Linked DNA regions of Homo sapiens: region 1 is linked to region 2. Evidence: promoter capture Hi-C in human tissues and cell types (Jung and others, 2019). All regions are on one chromosome and are shown on one strand. Each heading gives the region's core, a stretch centred on a gene start or on the middle of the fragment in contact. The rest is flanking DNA. Distances are from core to core; before and after follow the strand shown.

The links. Contacts are between HindIII fragments. The study calls those that stand out against the background at their distance.
Region 1: a fragment that was not itself captured here is called in contact with the fragment with the promoter of DDIT4L in region 2 in 1 of the 25 tissues and cell types used here (lymphoblastoid cells).

Annotation. Positions count from the first base shown.
Region 1 is chr4:102,180,236-102,186,895 of GRCh38, reverse strand. No RefSeq gene overlaps it. Among named protein-coding and RNA genes, the nearest start is that of SLC39A8, 160 kb to the left of the region's middle. The HindIII fragment of the contact is 5,021 bases long and covers 2,806-6,660 here.
Region 2 is chr4:100,186,261-100,193,792 of GRCh38, reverse strand. DDIT4L (DNA damage inducible transcript 4 like) reads left to right here and starts at 3,325. Exons shown (of 3, transcript NM_145244.4): 1 at 3,325-3,490; 2 at 3,761-3,900; 3 at 5,626-7,532. The coding sequence starts at 3,810. The coding sequence ends at 6,116. It overlaps DDIT4L-AS1 (DDIT4L antisense RNA 1), which reads right to left and starts at 3,760. Exons shown (of 5, transcript NR_125924.1): 1 at 3,719-3,760; 2 at 744-827; 3 at 1-47. The HindIII fragment of the contact is 5,141 bases long and covers 728-5,868 here.

The sequences.
Region 1 (6,660 bases), core at 4,067-6,566, 2.0 Mb before region 2:
AACATTGTACCCAATAGATAGTTTTTAGCCCTCTCCCCCACCATCCCTTTGTACTCACAGTGTCTATTATTCCAGTCTCTATATCCATGTGTATCCAGTGTTTAGCTTCCACTTGCAAGTGAGAACATGTGGTATTTGATTTTCTGTTTCTGAGTTATCGCACCAAGTCTCCTCTTTCTTGAAGTACTTGTAACAGCCTTCCCTGGGGTAGTTGCCTTGTGGGAGATTGCTGATCCTCCTCAAGACCTCTCCTTGACATCTGTTATACTTCTAGAACTATACCCAGATTTAAGTTTCAAAAGATCCCAGGGGTGAGGCATAGCATGTGAACCATAAGCAGTTAAACACACATGAAAAGAATTGCAAAATTTTGCCAATTTGTAATGATGATGGAAATTTGGAGAATATATGTCAAAATAGATTTTCAGGAATTATGTCAGGACTGATTTCATTCATGTTGATGCACTGAGCACAGATTTGGATTCGATGTGTTAATGTGAGCAGCTGAGAGTGACTCTTAACAGTTTTTTAAAAATTATAATTGGTTCACTGAAACCTGAATCCAAGACACCCTACACTAAATGAAGTTAAAATATCAGAACTTTTGTGGAATACTGAAGAGAAAGGTATTCAAAGGCTTAGAAAAATTGGAATGCTAGAGTGAATTTATCATGTAAGACATACTTACCCATCCCCTAATTATGTTCAGACAGTCCAGAGGACACTGACTTTACCAAGGTTGTGAGAAATCCTTTCATGAAGGACCCCTCAGCATCACCGTGGAAGAGCTCCGTGGTCTATTCTCTATAGGCCAAAAATGACAGTAGTAACTGCTGCCATCAGAATGAACTCCCTTGTTCAATGAGACAATGGGGTTCTAGGTGGCAGGGACTAAGTGTGGCATTTAATCAGCAGAGGCAATCGAGTTATTGTTACTGTAAAGCACAAAGAAGCCAAAATAGTTACCAGAATAGTCTGATTTTCAGACACATTTGGACTTCACTAATTGATCATGGAGTCCTTAGAACGAAAATAAATGGTATTCTCCCTCACTTTCCCACAAACTGCTATGGTCCTTTGACCTAAAATTGGCCCTCTGAGGGCTTACTGCAGTTAACAGCTTCACTAGGGCTAGAAAACGGTGTGTGTGTGTGTGTGTGTGTGTGTGTGTGTGTGTCTGTTGTGTGTATATGCATGCATATCTCTTGTGGCTATGTTGCTGAGTTTTTGAAAATGAAACTCAAAGTTTAATTATAGATTGTTTTATAATGCAAATTGAAATCCTAAGCTTGGAGTTTTTTTCATGAACCTTCACGGAAACGACAGAGCGGGGCTATTGCTCACCTAGGACACTGTGACAGCAGGGAAAGGCCTGAGGGACCTCTCTGAAGTCATTGGTGGGGAGGAGACCCTCACTATAGTGAATATAAAAGCCCTGACAGTGATACTTTTTGTCTTTAATGTTGAGCTTGGTTCCTTTATTGAGTATTTTTGCACCCCATAATAATTTCTTCCTCCTTCTTTTTTTAATAATCATCTGAAAGGCTCAAATGCATAGCCAGAAAGTGCTTGGTAAGAGAGGAAAATAGATATAGAAGTGAATAAAAATTTATTTTCATGTAATTTATATCAGTTGATTCTAATTTGACTTTTGAAGAAATTGAGACTAGACAAAAGTTGTCTCTCACAAGTTTTCCCTGAGAAACAGCATTGCTGCTTCCTTAGCAGTTCCTCATATGGCCTGATAAACAGACCTTTCCCCTGTCTGGCTGCCTCATTAGGAATTTCCCTTGGTGGTGTGTAATGGATTTAATTGTGCCCCAGCCCCTCTTCCAAATCAGATGTTGACATCCTAAGCCCCACTATTTCATAATGTGGACTTATTTGGAATTAAGGGTTTTTACAGAGGTAATCAAGTTAAAGTGAGGTCATCAGGGTAGGCCCTAATCCAATATGACTGGTGTCTTCATAAAAAGGGGAAATTTGTAGACAGAGACACATGCAGGGAAGACGATGTGAAGAGATATGGAGAAAAGATGGCCGTCTAAAGCCAAGGAGGGAGGCCTGGAGCAGATTCTCCCTCACAGGCCTCAAAAAGAACCAACACTGAGAACACCTTGATTTTAGACTTCCAGCCTCTGGAAATGTGAGAGAAAGTTCCGTTGTTTAAGCCACCCAATCTATGGTACTTGGTTATTGTAGCCCCAGCAAACTAATTAGAGGTTGACCTCTGTATTGGACTTAACATTACATGAGTGGTATATGGAAAGAAAAGTAAAATTAGGTTAAAAAGGCTTGGTTATTTAGGTATTTGTTTTTCCACTTTCCAATTAGATGACTTTTGTCAAGTCCTCTACCCTTGCAGATTAAGTGTTTCCTCATTTTTGCAGTCTTTTTTTTTTTTTTTTTTTTTTTGAGATGGAATCCCACTCTGTCGCCCAGGCTGGAGTGCAGTGGCAGGAAGTGGCATGATCTCTGCTCACTGCAAGCTCGCCTCCTGGGTTCAAGCAATTCTCCTGCCTCAGCCTACCAAATAGCTGGGACTACAGGCACATGCCACCATGCCCAGCTAATTTTTTGTATTTTTAGTACAGACAGGGTTTCACTGTGTTAGCCAGGATGGTCTCGATCTCCTGACCTCATGATCTGCCCACCTCCACCTCCCAGAGTGTTGATATTACAGGTGTGAGCCACGACACCCAGCCAATCCTTTCTTCTTAGGAACTGGTGACTAGTGTTCTAGTCAGCTCTAATCAAAATGCTTGTGGGTGACACTATTGGCCTCCTACCAATAGGATGAGCATAAGTCCCAAGGTGAGTGGGACAGTACCTGTTTATATCTATTATATTGGTGGAATTCTTAATAGGGCACCTTTTTTTTAATTTTTATTTTTAAAATTTTTTTATTTTCATAGGATTTTGGGGAACAGGTGGTATTTGGTTACATGAGTAAGTTCTTTAGTGGTGATTTGTGAGACTGTGGTGCACCCATCATCCCAACAGTATACACTGAACCTAATTTGTAGTCTTTTATCCCTTACCCCCTCCCACTCTTCCCCCTGAGTCCCCAAAGTCCACTGTGTCATTCTTATGCCTTTGCATCCTCATATCTTAGCTCCCACTTATGAGTGAGAACATGCGATGTTTGGTTTTCCATTCCTGAGTTACTTAACTTAGAATAATCGTCTCTAATCCCATCTAAGTTGCTGCAAATGCTATTAATTCATTCCTTTTTATGGCTGAGCAGTATTCCATTGTATGTATTGATACCACAGTTTCTTTATCCACTTTTTGATCGATGGGCATTTTGGTTGGTTCTACATTTTTTGCGATTGTGAATTGTGCTGCTATAAACATGCGTGAGCAAGTATCTTTTTCATATAATGACTTCTTTCATTCTTAGTCGTGTTCCAGTTGAATGATAAATTAGATATATGGTCTCCTTATCCTTTGCCATCTCCCTATTGCCAATTTTGCCCAGGTATTCCTCAGCTTCAGGAGTGGGTCCTGATTAGGCAATGACAATTATGCTAATTTCACCCTTGTTTGAAATTGGTTCAGCAACACTTGCTCAAGTCAATTAGAGCATAGGATTCTTGGATTGTGATTGGTCCAGGAGTGAGTAAAGGTCCTAATCTGGCCAAATGAGATTAAAAAGCAGGACCATGACTAAAATGATAGTTTTTCTTTTTTTCAATGAATGACATAATATATTGTCCTACTGTTGCTGGTAGTCATCTGATGAGCCTTACACAAGCAAGCTCAGGAATAAAATTGCACACAGAGTGGGCATAACACAGAGAATTGGAAAGAAACTAGACTCTTCATTGTACCACACCTAAACCAGCCTTAACTCCACACTTCTTGATACGTGAAAAGAGACGTTTTCTTATTGCTTCAGTTGATTTGAGTCCAGGACTTTTATTATTTTCAGCTAAATGCATCCTAAATGAGATAATGTTTATTCATTTGCTGTGGTTGCTAGAACAACTTATCACAACTTGGTGTGTTAAAAGAACAAAAATTTATTCTTTCATGGTTCTGGAGTCCAGAAGTCTGAAATCAGTTTCACTGGGCTAAAGTCAAGATGTTGGCCAGGCTAGCTCCTTCTGGAGGCTCTAGGGGAGATGCCTTTTCTTGCATTTTCTAGGTTCTGATGGGCTCCTGCATTTCTTGGCTCAGGGCCCCTTCCTTGAACTCCTCTAATCTCTTGCTTCTGTTTTCACATCTCCTACTTCTAAAATCTAATATTCACCCCTGCCTCTCTCTTATAATGACATTTGTGATTACATTTAAGACTCACCAGATAATGCAAGATAAGCTTCCCATCTCAGGGTCCTCAATCCACATTTGCAAAGTCCCTTTTGTCATTTAAGGTAACATATTCATGGTTTCTGAAGATTAGGCTATGGATGTCTTTGATGACTCTTTTTCAGTCTACTACACAATGCTTTTGACTATAGTGCAGAATGACAAAGATTCTGCAATGGTAAGATAGGTGACATAGGATGTAGACTGTAACTTTTTTCTAATGTCTTAGAATGTGAACTGAGTCATAAACCTGAGAATGGTAGGTGGTAAGTACACATATATTATAAAGAAAGATGGTAAACATATTCATGACCAAATTACTGAGAGATAGCAGAATCTCTCTAGAAACTATTAATCCAGCTACCAACTTTTATTTTATATAAGAACAGGCACTTTAAAGTGTGATTGGAGAGAGAATAGTTATAATAGGTGTGTCTCTGTTGTAATTAGGAGTACCATGGAAATTCTCCCCAACCAAGGGAATAGAGACTGAGATGCCAGCACTCATCTCAAGTCATTTGATGAGTCTCCAAGAATTTAAGTTTTAAAATCTGGAGATGCCAGGAAAGTAGAAGAGACTGGAATCTTGTTTTCTGACTGGATGATTATGTAGCTACAGAAATGTTTAACTCTTGCCTAATCTCACCAGATGGGGTTTGGTGGGAAAATTCTTCAGAGGCCTTGATAAACCCAGTAGAGCAGAGACATACATAAACAAAGAAACTGATGCCTGCTTCCTGCCTGTTTCTAGTATGGAGAATTTTTTTTTTTTTTTTTTTTTTTTTTTTTTTTTTTTTTTTTTTGAGATAGAGTCTTGCTCTGCCACCGAGGCTGGAGTGCAGTGGCGCAATCTCGGCTCACTGCGACCTCTGTCTCCTGGGTTCAAGTGTTTTTTTTGTTTCTTAACCCCTGGAGTAGCTGGGATTACAGGTACATGCCACCATGCCAGGCTAATTTTTGTATTTTTAGTAGAGATGAGGCTTCATTCACCATGTTGGCCTGGCTGGTCTTGAACTCCTGGACTCAAGTGATCCATCCACCTCTGCCTCTGAAAGTGCTAGTGTGAGCTACAGGTGTGAACCACCCTGCCCAGCCCCTAGTATGGAGAATTCTCAAGCCATGAAGCTGGCTGGAACAACCTGCAATGGCAGGACAAGTAGAGGGCAAAGGGGAACCACCAAAGAGTATACAATGTGCCCTATGAGAGAACTAACATTTGGGCATCTGCCTTTGGGCATGTGCTATGGCAAATTATAAAATATCTGTCATATAAGATATCCTTATTTTCCTAATCTCCCCTGTTTGCTATCTTGACCCTGGGAGAACGTGTAGCAGAGGTAATGTAGATGGAGAAAGGAAGGTGAGAAACAGACTAAGACTACTTCATTATTGCAGCTATCACATCCAAAGATCAAGTTTCAGTTCTGCGGAGGAGTGAAGATTTGGAATGGAAGTTAGATTGAACTTCTGATTTAGTCTGGATTTTTTTTTTTTTTTTTAGCATCTGAGAGTGAATTACAATTACTTAAATGAAATTGTTCTTGTCACTGAAAGAGACCAAAAAGGCTTGGGATATGCCTGGAATATTATCTTAGAAAAGCAAAGGAAGTTTGCAACAGACAGTATTAGTCAGAAAGGCTGGAGAAAAAAGTGAAGAAGTTTACTTCTTTTGGTAAACTCCTATATAGGTAAGAATATGTTAAAGAATAGAGAATAATAAAAGCGTGAATATGGCAGCAATATAAAGTAGTAGATGCACAACTAAATATTAATATATTTTGAAGCTAAGAAAGTACCCAATATTAGAACTAATCTTTAGGTCTCTTAAAAAACAAAGCATAGCAATAACAACAGCAAAATAAACCAAACTACAGCCTATTTGACCAAATGTTATTTTTCATTGAAAATAGAAATAACTTAGTTATTTACTGACAATTTATAGCTTCAACTTTTCCAAAATTGCATTGCTTTTTTCATTTTGGTTGTTTTGCAATTATTCTTCAAATATAGGATGACATTTCTGATTTGAGATAAGTAAAATATCCTATTCTACTCTTTTTTCTTTACCTCAATACATGACTCACATGAAGAGGAGGCACTTGTGGAAACAAGAGCAGGAATACTGAAAGAATACTGTACATGGTATTTTTCTGTTCATTTTATCTAATAGAAATTTTAAAATAAATCTTTCATGTGACAGATTAGGTAACAGCAAGCGTGAAGATCTTTCTTCACAGCTTGCTTTTACTGTGCCATTTCCTTTCATTTCCTGTAAGTGTGTTTGGCCCACAGACCTCCCATTAGTTTTAAAGGGATTCAGTGTCTAAATATACACTAGGACATGAAAAT
Region 2 (7,532 bases), core at 2,076-4,575:
ATAATAAAAAAGGCTTTCCTAATCAGTGCCAATACTTTCCAGATTTCCTGCAAACAGGAAAGATCATAAATTTTCTTATACTTTAACAACACTTCCCCAACTCCATTTAGCCACTTGCTTGTTGCACTGACCCAGATAACTACAATTTCAGAACATAATAACAGCAATAATAATAATATCACTCATTAAGTTCTTGCCTAATATCAGTATTAGTTTGGTTCTAAGCACTTTGCATGAGACACCAAATTTACAAACTTAGCACAACTAAGGGAATCTAGAGGCAGTGTGCATTTAAAGATCTCATATTTGTTTATAAAAAAGAGATAATATTTAGCATTGATTTTAAGGGTTTCTCTTTTAATCCTTACAATAACCCCATGAGCTTACTGCTAATGTATAGATCAATTTCCATGTCCTGTAAGTTTTCCCTGAATTGCACAGATTAAGAAACTCAGTAACTTTCCCTCAGGTGTCATAGTTTATGAAATAAAATAAGCTATGTGTGGAACGTAAATGTATTAATAAGATTCAAAAATAAGTGTTCATACCAAATAAAGACAGAAAATTGGCTAGTGAAACACGTAATGAACATTCAACACTCCAAATCACAAATGCAAAAGACACCAACATTTCCTGTAATAATACATGAAAGCATCATTTTTGCTTTTTGTTTTTTCAGTATCCCTGGCATTGTGAATTTATACTTTACATAAGCAATGACATTATGAATACTATATTTATACCTGAGGAAGCCTAGAACTTAAATATTTGCAAATACATCAGATGAACATATGGTTGCCAGTTGTTACTGCTATCTCATTTTCTTTCTGTAAGAAGATGGATTAGTGAATTATAGTAATAAAAAAGCAAGCATGCTTAAGTTAAAGCCTTTGCCTATGATTTAGATAGTTTCTTATAATACATTGGTGTATGAAAGGAAATCAAATTATTTAACTGACTAGATTTTCTATTCATACACAACTATTTCCAGTAAGCACTCCCACAAACTGTTTATATAGTATTAGTTAGAGGATATAATGAAAGAGCAATAAAACAAACTTCTTTATCACTGCACTTAATAAACACCTGAAGTTCCCCAATGCGAACTTTCAGTTATAAATAATTGACTGTATCCACATTTTTCTGAAATCTGATAGACTGTGTCACCTTGCACTTAGCCTATAATGGCACTTAGTTTTTCCTAATTCTTCTCTATGCTTCAAATTTTTAAAAAATCAGTTCTGTTTAACCTTGTGAAGATGCAAACTGGTGATAGAATGGATTTTCTACGCTTTTAAGTAGATAAAAAAGGACATTCTTAATTATTCCAGGTATGTGTTTTACCTCAATCATTCCTTATGCCCTGTATGTCCTGAGAGCAAGGCCCATTCAGCCAAGAAGATATTATTTGAAGTCTTTTGTACATAAGTAAATTGTTTTCTGAAGTCAAATCCCAAAGGGCTTTGCAAAATTTCATTTAGTCAGGTGGGCCAAGAGCAACTACTACTTTCTGTAAGTTCCAATAATCTTTCTGGCCCTATGGGGGCATTTACTCTATGAATTATGCCTAAATACCCTAAGGAAATTGAAACGAGTAATTTCTTTATTTCGCTAGTATTGGTTCAGACCACTCATTATATTAATTCTAAAAATCCTCCTTGGAGGCAGGTTAAGTGGCAGCCTCATTAGTAATGCTGCCCAGACAAGGACAAGAGGCTCTGTGGCCTGCCCAGGGACTGACTGTCAGGCGGCTGGCATCCAACTCCTGACCATGGGCCCATCCATTGGTCCTGAACACCCTAGCCACTGAAACCGCTTTTTAATTGGCTTAAATGGGCTTGTTTATTTTCCACTTTTCTGTTTATTGAAGTAGAAGTGGAAACTGGCCTTCAAAGACCAGTCTATCAGCATCTCCTTCCTTGGCTCGCCTGACCTTCAGGCAGTGCAGCTGCCTGAACTGAGTTAAAAATGGACTGTCAAGCTGGCTTTAATTTCTGCTGCTCTGCGTCCGAATGTCCTCCCACTGATCTGTTTATCACACCCTCTATACCCCTTCTGTTGTTGTTTTTCTAAGAGTTTTATGCCAGGACAGCTGAAACTGCCTTTCAAGGTTCTAACCTGCAAATCCTTCTACACATAATCCTAGAGGGCCTGGGAGCCAACACTGGGATCTCTACTGTAGGAACAACCTTCTCCCTCCAGGCATCCCCTAACGCACCCCAAGCTGACTCTCTGAACAGATCATCTCCTACTGGCACACCAAAGCGAGAAAACCGTGGCTTAATAACTTTGGAAGAAAAAAATCAGGTTTGGCTTCTTGCTCATGGGCTATGCGGGCATGTTGCCTCTTTCCAGGGCTCCTCTGCCTCTCTGTGTGTTCCTGTGCAGGACCGCACGGAGCCCTCACAGGGATTATCTGCTGATCCCCAGCAGAATATAAAACTCTTTATCTTCAGTCTCTGAAACCTCTTCAAAATATCCCAAACCAAAGATCCTCCCAACAGGGCTCGCCAGAAACTTCTGCCTCCGGAAATGACAGTTGCTCTCGATGCACGGATAGAGGAGTACCTAAGATCCTACTAATGGTATTGTGTGTTTCTTGGCAAACTCCCGCTCAATTCAAGCTCCCCGCGCTCTGGGGCAAGGTCTAATTAGAAGAGTGCCAGGCTCACCCTTCCTGCGAAGAAAACGCATTAGCCACAGATGTAAGTGCACGAAGAATGCCAGGGAGCCACGGAGTGCGTGGGGTCATTAAGGCCCTTCTTAAAATGCTGGCGAGCCTTCGATGCGGGAAAGGAAAACTAGATCTGACCGCTTGCAGCAGAGGAGGATACAGAAACCCTGGGAGGCAGAGTAGAGTTGACTGGGTTAGAGGCCAGAAATAAGTGCATAAATGATGCTCAGTGGACGTTGCAACAGATTTAAGCCAAGTGTTCAGGATGACACAGCAAAGCCCCAGGACAAGGAAATGCACAGATCGCTTAAAGCTTCCCGCTGCCGGGAGCAGCCTGAGTGTGAAAGCGCGGACGCTCGGGGAGGGGTCGCACTGAACAATCAGGTTCAGGCTTTGACGAGTCGTGCACCCGGAATTGCGGTCCCAGTGGCCCGAGATCTACCCTGGAAGCAACAGGTGTCCGCTCTACCACAGGCTTATCCTCAACTCCCTGTGGCTAGGCTCGGGCTCCCTGGAAGTGTAGAGGTTGAAAGGGGACCAGACTCTGGAGGGGAGGGGCGGGGCGCTGGCCGGGGAGGGGCGGTGCAGGTGGGCGGGCCTGAGCAGGGTGGGGACTGGACCTATAAAGTTCTCGCTGCCCCGGAGGCTATGCTACTGCGAGGAGCCGGCGCAGGGTGGCCCGGGAGGGGTGAGCAGGGTGCCGCTGGCTGCTGGGGTCTGCAGGTCACCGAGTCCCCAGGAGAGGGGACTCCTAAGAAGCCACCTGCCTGTGTTTACCCGGCAGCGAGCGCGCAGGCCCCCGCGAACTCCTGGCAGGTGAGCGAAGCTGCGGCCTTGGTGGGGGCAGCGGGGCCGGGGGGCGCTCCGCGGGGCAGGTCGCTTCCAAGTTTTGCGAACTGTTGAGTTAGTTTCAGGTTGCGGCTCCGCTCCCAGGGCTTTGTCAAATTGAGTTGCAGAGGCCGGTTCCACCCCTTTGGCAAAGGAGTTCCTCCGCTAGTTCGCTCCCGGGACGCCGGGCATTTTAGGAGCCTCTGCACGACTCGCCTGCTTTTGCAAATCCGTCTCTTCTCGCCTCATTTTTTCCAGCGCTCAGGAAAGGCCGTTGCGCCTCGCGAAGGAAACAGAGCCGTTGACCATGGTTGCAACTGGCAGTTTGAGCAGCAAGAACCCGGCCAGCATTTCAGAATTGCTGGACTGTGGCTATCACCCAGAGAGCCTGCTAAGTGGTGAGTGTCCCCGCTGTCCACCCTTCTCCCCTCCCAAGGTCGGTGCCTCTGGATCTATTGGGTGGGCGGGCTTTCGACTTCCTCCCCTACCTCTATGTAGGAGGTGCCACAAAATCCATCTGAGGAGACTCCTTTCCAAATTTTCTAACATCTTCTCTCCATGATAGAAACAAAAGTAGCAAAAGTAGAATACCCGAGGGCTGCATCTTTCTAGTCTGGTGCCAGTAGGCCCCTTGGGATTAAGTTCCTTATCTTACATGATTGTGAAGAACACAGTTATGTGTGTTTTAGCAAATGTATTTACCCTGTAATCAATATCGCCCCTCCCCCTGAATTCCGACGCACCTATTTGCCAGGTATTCCTCACTCTCCCCTGACTCCAGGGAACTACTGATCTGATTTTTATCATTCCAAGTTAGTTTTGCCTTTAGGTAAGTGGAACCATACAGTAGGTATTCTTTTGTGTCTGGTTTCTTTCCCGCAGCCTAATGTTTTTGAGATTCTTTTATGTCCGTTGCTTAAATCAGTGTGTTCGTGTTTATTGTTTATTACTGAGTAGGATTTTCAGTCGTGGATATATCCATTATTCCATTTTTAATGTGAGAAGGAAACTGTTGAACAGCAGCGGTGCTTGACTTGCTGTCATTTGGAATTTTAACAGCAGTTTCTAGGTGAACACACTGCTCTGACACTAAAGAGCTGTAAGAGCATAGATAAACTGCTTAAGCTCTTCGTGTTTTTCTCCTTTCAAGGTGAAGTGGTTGATGACCTAATTTACAGGCCAGAACTCCAAACTTACACGAAGTGGAGAGGAAAAGCCAGTGGCTGATGAAGGTGGAGTAGGCTTAGAGAGAGGAGCTGGGAGGGCATCTGCCTGCACCTTGTTCATTTGACTCCGTGTGGTGTGGCATCCTGCCAAGGGGTAGGATTAATTTGAGGTGTAGGTGACCAAATGCAGAGCTATCTCTTTTCCTTTGAGCCCAGCTAATTTTATTTCCCTAGGACTATTTTGTTTTGCTTGGCTAAGAAAAACCACCCAGCCGGTTACAAATATCCTCATGAACCTCAAAGGTCTTCTCTGCACAATTTTTAATTAAAGAGGCTAAAGCTAAAATTGGGACCTACAGGCCACTCCAGTAAAGACTTAAAGACACAAATTTGATAGATCTTTAATATAACTCTTAAAGCTTTAATACAACTCTTCAAACATAATAGTAAAAATTCTTTATTTTACAATACATGTATTCCTACAGTTAGAAAGTAACAACCCCTTAGTCCAAAAAACAAAGTTATAACTTTTTATTCCAGAAGTAATGCATGTTTTCTGTAAAACAAAATTAGAAAACCCCCATAAGCAAGTAGGAGAAAAGAAAAGAAAATCACCAATAATCTGGGATAATCACAAGTAGATTTTTGATGCATAGTCTTCACGGTTGTGTGTGTGTTTTGTGTACACACATAAATTTAAAGAAAAGTGGTTACATCCTATCTACTCTATTTATCTAAACCTTTATTTCATACATGAACTTTCATTCATGAGAGCTTAAATTATTCGCTATATTACCTAGCTAGTTAACAGTTAATTGAGGTCAGCTGACTCTGAAACAAATACAAGAAAAAGGCAGACATGGTAGATAGAGGTAACCAATGTTGATATCTTGGTGTTTTTTTTCTACTCTTAAATTTTTTCTTCTGTATCTAAAAAGAAAACTCCATTTCTTACAGATTTTGACTACTGGGATTATGTTGTTCCTGAACCCAACCTCAACGAGGTAATATTTGAGGAATCAACTTGCCAGAATTTGGTTAAAATGCTGGAGAACTGTCTGTCCAAATCAAAGCAAACTAAACTTGGTTGCTCAAAGGTCCTTGTCCCTGAGAAACTGACCCAGAGAATTGCTCAAGATGTCCTGCGGCTTTCCTCAACGGAGCCCTGCGGCTTGCGAGGTTGTGTTATGCACGTGAACTTGGAAATTGAAAATGTATGTAAAAAGCTGGATAGGATTGTGTGTGATTCTAGCGTCGTACCTACTTTTGAGCTTACACTTGTGTTTAAGCAGGAGAACTGCTCATGGACTAGCTTCAGGGACTTTTTCTTTAGTAGAGGTCGCTTCTCCTCTGGTTTCAGGAGAACTCTGATCCTCAGCTCAGGATTTCGACTTGTTAAGAAAAAACTTTACTCACTGATTGGAACAACAGTGATTGAAGGGTCCTAAAAAGGGAAAATATATAAAGATTATTTCATGATTGGGTAGTAAAACTATTCAGCTAGTCAGCTAAAGTCATTTGTAGTTTGCCCCACCTGCCCTAAATAAGAAACCCCAAATGTAGTCTCTTTTCTTTCTGTGTTTCACATTCATAGCAACTGCAGCTAACAGGCTGATTTTCTGGCCTTTGGAGAAGTGATTCAAAATAGTGTAGATTTTCTGCATAGATCCCATTTTTGTACAGAATTGAATGGGATGGAATAGGTAAGCAAAAGTAGAAGCCCATTTGAGTTTTACATTTGATTCCACAATTTGGTTTCAGGTAGGCTTGGTAATAGACTATATAAACCAGATTTGCCTATTTTGATTTTCATATGGCTTTTTTTTCTGTAAGTTTTCAGAGGATTTTTTAAATCACAGAATCATACTAAATGATATTTAGCCTATCAAAACTTCCAAAAGCCCACACCACCAGTTCCTGACTCAAATTTGAAGGGTTTTTAGACAGGAGGGTAGGATTAAGTAGGTGAGTTTAATTAAAGCTTAACCCTAGGTAAGAGTAAATGAGAAATATTACGGCAATAATGGAACTGCTTCACTGTTTCTTGGTGACTTCCTCACTCTAATGTTTTAAAGAGGCAACAAAAGCTTGTGGTGCCATTTCAGTAACCACGGTGTTGTTTTAGATGCCTTTATAAGCTCAGTTTCCCCTGTTCTTAAGTGTTGAATACTGTCTTTAAACTAGAAAAATGCAAAATATTGAACTGATATTTTTGTGTGTAGTTGATTACTCTTCCATTGAGTGAATGATGAATACCTGTGAGGATAGGAAATTAGTTCTGAGATCTAGTCCCTCTCTGATTCACTTAGTAATCTATCCTCTTTTCAGTATTACATGTGCTTAATCTCAGATGAACCATTTCACCATGGCAGTGTTATCTCATCTCTGGGCTTTTCTGGGAATTGAAGTATCTCTCCTTAACCCCAATTGTCAAGGGTAGTAGCTGTATACTACCACTTTGAATTATTGAAACGGGTCAATTTACGAAGTCTGCATTGGCTATGGAGATATGGTTTATAGTACAGCCTAGAGAATGAAACTCACCGTCCAGATAACCATGCATGCACCCAGATTTTTTCCACCTTGGATACCTGTCACTAGGGAATAATAAAGGCCTGATTTTTTGTCTTATTCCAACTAAGTAGATCATTATCTCTTTCCTTTTTTATGTTAATGAGAGAATTTAGCCTCCACTCAACAATGTTCAATTCAGCAAGGCTTTCATATCCTTGCTGTGGGTCGTGGATAAGGAGCTTATTCAGGTTTCCTGCCCTAGCTATTAGCTCCACTTCACATGCTGGAGACCGGCGTAGGGACAGATGTATTCATCCTGGTGTTACTGAAAAACAGGTGTGATCCTGTTA